2 separate regions of the Homo sapiens genome follow, and region 2 is linked to region 1. The links are contacts of gene promoters, found by promoter capture Hi-C in human tissues and cell types (Jung and others, 2019). All regions are on one chromosome and are shown on one strand. Each heading gives the region's core, a stretch centred on a gene start or on the middle of the fragment in contact. The rest is flanking DNA. Distances are from core to core; before and after follow the strand shown.

Evidence for each region. Contacts are between HindIII fragments. The study calls those that stand out against the background at their distance.
Region 2: a contact is called between a fragment that was not itself captured here and the fragment with the promoter of FBXO27 in region 1, in 1 of the 25 tissues and cell types used here (hippocampus).

What each region holds. Positions count from the first base shown.
Region 1 is chr19:39,030,913-39,035,303 of GRCh38, reverse strand. It overlaps FBXO27 (F-box protein 27), which reads left to right and starts at 2,755. Exons shown (of 6, transcript NM_178820.5): 1 at 2,755-2,801; 2 at 3,051-3,440; 3 at 3,984-4,095; 4 at 4,180-4,275. The coding sequence starts at 3,077. RefSeq lists silencers at 2,977-3,046, 3,107-3,256, 3,457-3,536, 3,687-3,926, 3,776-3,958 and enhancers at 2,868-3,660, 4,067-4,176. The HindIII fragment of the contact is 13,585 bases long and covers 1-4,239 here.
Region 2 is chr19:38,988,186-38,992,303 of GRCh38, reverse strand. No RefSeq gene overlaps it. Among named protein-coding and RNA genes, the nearest start is that of FBXO17, 15 kb to the right of the region's middle. The HindIII fragment of the contact is 7,056 bases long and covers 1-4,118 here.

The sequences.
Region 1 (4,391 bases), core at 1,506-4,005:
CTCCTAATTCAGGGTCTCCCTCTCCTATCCACCCAACCCAGCCTCGTTATGCCCCATTTCCCTTCTCTGCTCTAATTTTTCACAGCACTAATCACTTTTTAACACACACACACTTATTATGTTTACTGTTCATCATGACAGAAGCACATTACAGGCTAGTTTGAAGTGTATACACTAATACAACCGTTTCATTCTTTTTTTTACTTGTTTTCTTTTTCTTTTTCTTTTTTTTTTTTTTTTTTTTTTGAGACAGGGTCTCGATGTGTAGCCCAGGCTGAAGTGCAGTGGCATGATCACAGCTCACTGCAGCCTCAACCTCCCAGGCTCAAGCCATCCTCCCACCTCAGCCTCCCAAGTAGCTGAGACTACAGGTGCACACCACTATTTGCAGCTACTTTTTAAATTTTTTGTAGAGACGGGGTTTCACTGTGTTGCCAGCGCTGGTCTCAAACTCCTGGGCTCAAGAGATCCTCCTGCCTCGGCCTCCCAAAGTGCTGGGATTACAGGTGTGAGCCCCCATGCCAGGACCCATTTAATTCTTTTCTGCATTTGTGGAGAGGATTCTAAGAGGGTCAAAAGGAGGTTTTATTTATTTTATTTATTTAAGACAGCTTCTCACTCTGTCGCCTAGGCTGGAGTGCAGTGGTGAGGTCTCAGCTCACTGCAACCTCTGCCTCCCTTGTTGAAGTGATTCTCATGCCTCAGCTTCCCGAGTAGCTGGGATCACAGGCATGCGCCACCATGCCCGGCTAATTTTTGTATTTTCAGTAGAGACGGAGTTTCGCCATTTTGGCCAGGCTGGTCTCACACTCCTGACCTCAAGTGATCCGCCTGCCTCAGCCTCCCAAAGTTCTGGGATTACAGGCGTGAGCCATCATGCCCGGCCTGGAGGTTTTATATTTAATTATTTCCCTGATACTACGTAATTTGCTCATTATGCCAACTGTTTATCATGTCTCTCCCTCTAGAAGGTAAGTTCTTTGTGGGGAAGAATCCATGTCTGGTTTTGTTTGTTGATGTCTTAAACTATGTATACAGCTCACGTTATGTCGAAGCCAAATAAAATATAGAGATATAGAGACAAATCTCTCGATTTAAAATGTTTTGTTGCGGTGGCTCATGCCTGCGATCCCAGCACTTTGGGAGGCTGAGGCGGGCAGATCACCTGAGGTCGGGAGTTTGAGACCATCCTGGCCAACATGGTGAAACCCCGTCTCTACTAAAAATACAAAAATTAGCTGGGCATGGTGGCATGCGCCTGTAATCCCAGCTACTCGGGAGGCTGAGGCAGGAGAATCGCTTGAACCCATGAGGCGGAGGTTGCAGTGAGACGAGATTGCATCACTGCCCTCCAGCCTGGGCGACAGAGCGAGACTCTGTCTCAAAAAAATAATAAAATGTTTTATTTGGGAAGCAAGAATTGACATTCGAGGCATCCACACAGACCAGGCGGTCTTCAGAACTTTCAAAGAACAAAGAGGTTAGAGGTTTTTATAAGAAACAGAAATGTTAGGTATTGTTTTGCAAGAAAGTTCATTGACACTAGCAACGTTCTGGGGAGCTGGCAAGTTCTGACTGGTAAGTGACAGCAGAGGGAAAAACTAGTCTTAGAGTCACGGCAGGTTTTTTCAGTACCAGTTAGACTGCTTCCAGGTTACAACAGGCAGTTTTAACAGCCAGGCTTGCAGAGAATCACTTTCTTGGAGCAATGGTATCTGCCCTAAGTGTTTTCCCCCCGGCCTCTCAACTTTGTTTTAGTTGGATATGACAAGAAGGATCCAATTCACATGATCAACTTTCACAATTTTTTTTTTCTGTTTGTTTTTTGAGACGGAGTCTCACTCACTCTTTTGCACAGGCTGGAGTGCAGTGGTGCAATCTCTGCTCACTGCAACCTCCCCCTCCCGGATTCAAGCAATTCTCCTGCCTAAGCCTCCAAATTAGCTGGGATTACAGGCGCGTGCTACCACGCCCAGCTAATTTTTGTATTTTTAGTAGAGACGGGGTTTCACCATGTTGGCCAGGCTGGTCTCGAACTTCTGACCTCAAGCGATCCGCCTGCCTTGGCCTCCCAAAGTGCTGGGATTACGGGCATGAGTCACCGCACCCAGCCACAATTGTATTTTTATTGGACAGAGCTGATCTAGAGGTTAAAATGAGGAATTCCGGAGCTAGGCTGGCTGGATTCAAATCCCTACTAGCTGGTGATCATAGACAAGCCACTTGGCCTCTGCTGGTCTCAGTTTTTTCACCTGTGAAGTAAAGGGCATAACAGCACCTACTTCATGGGGTTGCCACCCTGGCTGGCAGTAAAACCGTCCATAAAAGTTGGCTGGTGTTACTATTGGTTGCATTAATTTTTAGCAGCCGGAGCCTGTTTTCTCCTGTGAAATGAAGATAACCACGCCCGACCTTAAAGGTGATGGAAATTTTTTAACACGTTAACGGATACGAGGCCTCCCACTCAGAAGCCTGACCAAAATAACAATGGTTGCTCAGAGCCAGACGTCTCATTGCTACTAACGAATTAGGGACACTTCAAGGGGCCGGCTGGAGGGGACGGCTGTGAGCAGCAGGCCTTGGCTCCTGGCTGCACCTGGCCCCGTCGCGGGAAGCAGGTTGGGTTTGGAGAGCGGGAGGGAGCAGGCGGGAGGGGCTGGCGAGTAAGAAAGAGGATGCAGGGGTGGGTGAAGCTGGCTAGTAAGAGGGGAGGGGCCGGCGAGTAAAAAGGACGCAGAGGGGCGTGGGGAGCTTGCGGCACAGCTAGGGCATCCCGGCGAGGAGCGCCGCCAGGCCCCGGGGTAGGACTTGGGGTGCGGTGTCGGTGCGGCCGCCGAGGGGGGCTGATTGCATGCAATTCGGGGCATACACACAGACCGCGGGGTCTCCGGGATATCGGGGCTATCAAGGACGGGCTGGGGGATGGGGACTTGGGGACGGGGCCCAGGGATGGTGAAGACGGGGGTGCGGCTGGCAGAATCAGGGCAGGCAGAGGCTGCGCGCCGCGGAGGCTGCTGGTCCCTGACGCCTTGACCCTTCCTCTCCCGCAGCCACAGCCGGGCCTGGCGGGGGGACCATGGGCGCCTCGGTCTCCAGGGGCCGGGCCGCCCGGGTCCCCGCGCCGGAGCCGGAACCCGAAGAGGCGCTGGACCTGAGCCAACTACCCCCAGAGCTGCTTCTGGTGGTGCTGAGCCACGTCCCCCCGCGCACGCTGCTCGGGCGCTGCCGCCAAGTGTGCCGGGGCTGGCGAGCCCTGGTGGACGGCCAGGCCCTGTGGCTGCTGATCCTGGCCCGCGACCACGGCGCCACCGGCCGCGCGCTGCTGCACCTCGCCCGCAGCTGCCAGTCTCCCGCCCGTAACGCCAGGCCTTGCCCCCTGGGCCGCTTCTGCGCGCGCAGACCCATCGGACGCAACCTTATTCGCAACCCCTGCGGCCAAGGTGGGATCTCGGAAGAGGAAGTCCAGGATGCTGGGCCACAGTGGGAGCGGTAGCGGGGCCGGAGGGGCGGGGCCGCACTGGGACCGGTACTAGGGGCCGCAGGGGCAGGGCCGCAGTGGGACCGGTGGGAGGAGTCGGAGAGGCGGGGCAGCATTGGGAGCCGGTGTGAGGTGCCGGAGGGGCGGGGCAGCATTGGGAGCCGGTGGGAGGTGTCGGAGGGACGAGGCAGCATTGGCACGCAGGGTGCAGGGCTGACTGGGCAGGGCTTCACCGTTTGCCTGTGGGAGGGGTGGGAGTGGGGCAGTTCTGGGAGCCCGAGAGAGGGGTTGGAGGGGCAGGGCTTTGCTGCAAATCAGTGAGAAGGGCCAGAGGAGCGGGGCTTTGCCCTGAGCTGGTGGGAGGGGAAGGGGGCGGGGCCTCGGTGGGAAGGGTCAGGTGAGTGAGCTGCACTGTGAGCACGTGGGAGGGGCTAGGGGCGGGGTCTCACTAGGAACCAACAGGCGGGCGACTGGAACTTGGGCACAAGCCTTTTTTATTTCACAGAAGGCCTCCGAAAGTGGATGGTGCAACACGGTGGGGACGGCTGGGTGGTGGAGGAAAACAGGACAACCGTGCCTGGGGCCCCTTCTCAGACGTGCTTCGTGACTTCATTCAGGTGAATGCCCCTGCTATCCAAAGGTCCGGCCCCTTGTTGAGAAAGGCCTGCCTGTTCTCATTACCCTGTCTCCTGCATTCCCAGCTGGTGTTGCAAGAAGCAGGTCTTGGACCTAGAGGAGGAGGGTCTGTGGCCAGAACTGCTGGATAGTGGCAGGATTGAGATTTGTGTCTCTGACTGGTGAGTGTGACGATTAAAATAGCCCCTTGCTAAGCACTGACTGCATGTGACATGGCCTTTTTATGGGTGACTTAATTTAGGCCTCCTAACCCCTCCTTACAGATAAAAAATCTGAA
Region 2 (4,118 bases), core at 195-2,694, 42 kb after region 1:
CCCGTGAGGTAGAGGTTGCAGTGAGCCGAGATGACACCATTGCACTCCAGCCTGGGCGACAAAGCAAGACTCTGTCAGAAAGGAAAGAGAGAGAGAGAGAAAGAAAGAAAAGGAGAAACCACCAGATCACCCACAAATGGACAGGAAGCAGAGAAGGGCTTTGGCCAGGCGGAGGTTGGTCTCTGCTCTGCCACTCTTTGCCTGGAAAACCCTGAAAAGGTATTTTTTCCCTCTGAGCCTGTTTCCCCGTCTGTAAACTGTTTCCCCATCTGTAAACAAAGAGAGGTGATGATATTCAAGAGGCTTAAAAACAGCACAGTGCGGCCGGGCATGGTGGCTCATGCCTGTAATCCCAGCACTTTGGGAGGCTGAGACAGGCAGATCAGCTGAGGTCAGGAGTTCAAGACCTGCCCAGCCAACACAATGAAACCCTGTCTCTACTAAAAACATGAAAAGTAGCCGGGTGTGGTGGCAGGCACCTGTAATCCTAGCTACTTAGGGGACCATGGCAAGGAGAATCAGTTGAACCCGGGAGACAGAGGTTGCAGTGAACTGAGATCGTGCCATTGCACTCCAGCCTGGGCAACAGAGCAAGATTCTGTTTCAAATAAATAAATTAATTCATTAAATAAAATAAACAACACAGCCCAACCAAGCAGAATGGGGTGGGGTGGGGGTCTTGAGCCATGAACAATCTGGGCCGAGCTGTCCCGCATTGGTGGATGATGACAAGGACTAAGTGAAATTCCTGGGTCCGGGGTGAGCCACTGTGATGATTCTCACCCAGGTCACTGTCCAGAGGCTGCATTCTTGGCCAATTCTCTTGGAGGTCCGCCAGCTCCTCGTGGCACCAGCTGGGAAGAGGAAGGAGGGAAGGAGATGGGCAGGAGAGGAGGTGGAAGAAGGGCGGGTTTCATTCTCAGGCTCTGAAGCCCAGGGCTGGTGAGGCAGGGGTCGGGCACTCACTCAGTAAGTCACAAAGCAGGTCTGGGAGCCTGCGAGGGTCCCTTCTCCCCAACATGTCATTGCCACAGTGCTGCAGATCCCAGGCGTCCTCTGCAGGACCAGGGAGTAAGGGAGGCACCAGCCCCGGGCCACACACCCTTACTGGCCGGGCTGTGCCTGTCCCTGCTACTTGGACTTAGTAGCCTTGACCCTGTCCTTGGGAAAGGCTTTGAGCCCTTCCATGATTACATCATCATCCCTGGAGGAACACTGCAAAGTCTTAGCTCCCCTCCTTCCAGTCATCCCTGCCAGGCTCTGGCTGCCCCGTGGTCACCCGGCCACACTCCCAGACTTCTCCAGGGCAGTAAAGAACTCAAGCTAAGTCTTGAAGAGGTAGAACCTAGAATGATAATTTTCAATTTTTAGATCATGACCAACGGATAAAAGTCACAACCAGCACAATTTTTAAAAAATGAAATTCAATAGAAAACATCAGAGTGCACTGCACACAGCAACGGGTAAACATTGCTGCAGAAATTCTACTTTCAGGTGTATTGATTGTTGTGTAAAATACATTTCTTTTTTTTTTTTTTTTAGATGGAATCTTACTCTCTCACCCAGGCTGGAGTGCAATGGCACAATCTCAGCTCACTGCAATCTCTGCCTCCCAGGTTCAAACAATTGTCCTGCCTCACCCTCCCGAGTAGCTAGGATTACAGTCGCCCGCCACCACACCTGTCTAATTTTTGTATTTTTGTAGAGACAGGGTCTCACCATGTTGGCCAGGCTGGTCTTGAACTCCTAACCTCAGGTGATCCACCCACCTCGGCCTCCCAAAGTGCTGGGAGTACAGGTGTGAGCCACCGCACCCGGCCAGAATGCATTTCTTACTCAGACTATGGTTACAAAATGTAGAGAAACATTGGCCTTGAAGTTCATAGCACATACCCAGAAAGATTTTGCAACCTTCTGAACCTATTCAGATTCCGCACGCCATCTTCAGGGAGCGGCACTCTTATTTCACCAGCTGCCAGACCCAAGAGCCTGGCCTTGTCCTGGACTCCTGTCTCTCCCCATTTCTCACACCAAATCCAGTCCAGCAGCAAATCCTTTTATCTTTCCTTCAAAGGACATTCAGAACACGCCTGACTTCTGCCATCATCCCTCAGACAGGATCATCCCGCAGCTGGGTTATCACTCCTCCACCTTCGAGACAGCAGAACCCTAAGAGAGCGCACTGCACATAACAGGTGTTAGGCTGGGCGTGGTGGCAAACACCTGTAATCCCAGCACTCTGGGAGGCTGAGGCAGGAGGATCACTTGAGCCCGGGAGTTCAAGACCAGCCTGGGCAACATAGTGAAACTCTGTCTCTATTAAAAAAATAAAAATAAAAAAATTAGCTGAGTGTGGTGGTGTGCACCTGTAATCCCAGTTACTTAGGAGGCTGAGGCAGTAGGAATGCTTGAGTGTAGGCGTTGGAGGCTGCAGTGAGCTATGATGGCACCACTGCACTCCAGCCTGGGCAACAGAGTGAGACCCTGTCTGAAAGAAAGGAAGAAAGAAAGAAAGAAAGAAAGAGAGAGAGAGACAGAGAGAGAAAGAAAGAAAGAGAGAGAAAGAGAGAGAGAAAAAAGAAAGGAAAGAAAGAAAGAAAGAAAGAAAGAAAGCAAGAAAGAAGGAAAGAAAGAAGGAGAAAGAGAGAGAGGGAGGGAGAGAGGGAGGGAGGGAGAGAGGGAGGGAGGGAGGGCTGCATGCAGTAGGCGCTCATCTGTGGATTGACTGGTGGCAGGGCTGGGCTTGGAGATTGCTTGGCCAGCCTCCTCCCTCTGTCCCCCTCCAGCCTGCCCAGAGCCTGTTATTTGATCTCCCCCAACATGGGCTCCTCGCCTCCCCTCCTCCAGGTCTCCAGACTCTGAGGTTTGTAAGCTGAGCCTGGCAGCCACACACGGTGCCGCCCCTGGGCTGGTAGATGACAGATGAGTTGCATCCCCCTTGCACTCTGTTGACATTATGAGAGCTGATCCCTCCCAGGAACAATCTACAGCCTCCCCAAGGGGCCCCCTGAGACCTGCCTGTTCATCTCTGGGTCACAACCCCAACATCAGCCTGGCCAGGAGGAAAGCTGGCCGAAGGGGTGACAGGCAATATCATCGGCCTGCCAGGCATCATGTAACTACTCTCAGGGGCCGTGGCCAGGCCAGACGGTGAGATGGAATGCAGAAAGAATGCAGAATAGAGCTGGGCGACAGAGAGACCGGCTGATGCCAGTCCAGCCGCGAGCCACCTGGGTAGCTACAGACTTCCCTCTAATGTCACTGGTTAGGAAAGTGAGCTGATGGTACACCATGAACCCAGACTGAAGGCCAGAGGACCAAACCTTTGTAGCCCATGAAGCCCATTTGTTATGGTAACAATTTTAGAAGGGCTCAGCAGCATTTTTGAAAAGGTTGTTTTGTTTTGTTTTGTTTTGAGACAGGGTCTCGCTCTGTTGCCCAGGTTATAGTGCTATGGTGCAAACACACCTCACTGCAGCCTTGACCTCCTGGGCTCAAGCGATTCTCCCACCTCAGCCTCCCACGTAGCTGGGACCATGGGTGCATGCCACCATGCCCATCTAATTTTTTAAATTTTTTGTAGAGACGGGGGTCTCCCTAGGTTGTCCAGGCTGGTCTCAAACTCCTGGGCTCCAGTGATCCTCCTGCCTCAGCCTCCCAAAGTGCTGGGCTTACAGGTGTGAGCCACCATGCCAGGCTAAGGTTTTTTTTCCGTAACTAGAAAGTCAGAACTCCCTTCCCAATAATAAATTATCTGGCCAAGAATTAATCTCACCTAGCTAGCAAAATTGTTATCTTTTCTCTTTCTTTCTTTTTTTTTTTTTTTTTTTTTTTTTTTTTAGGAATAGAGACAGGAGGCCAGCACTCCTGTGAGGTGAGACAGGAGGTGGCTCACACCTGTAATCCCAGCACTTTGGGAGGCCAAGGTGGGTGGACCACTTGAGGTCAGGAGTTCTAGACCAGCCTGGGCAACATGGCAAAACCCTGTCTCTACAAAAAATAGAAAAATTGACTGGATGTGGTGGCACGCACCTGTAGTCCCAGCTGTTCGGAAGGCGAAAGCAGGAAGATCACTTGAGCCCAGGAGGCTGAGGCTGCACTGAGCCATGATTGCACCA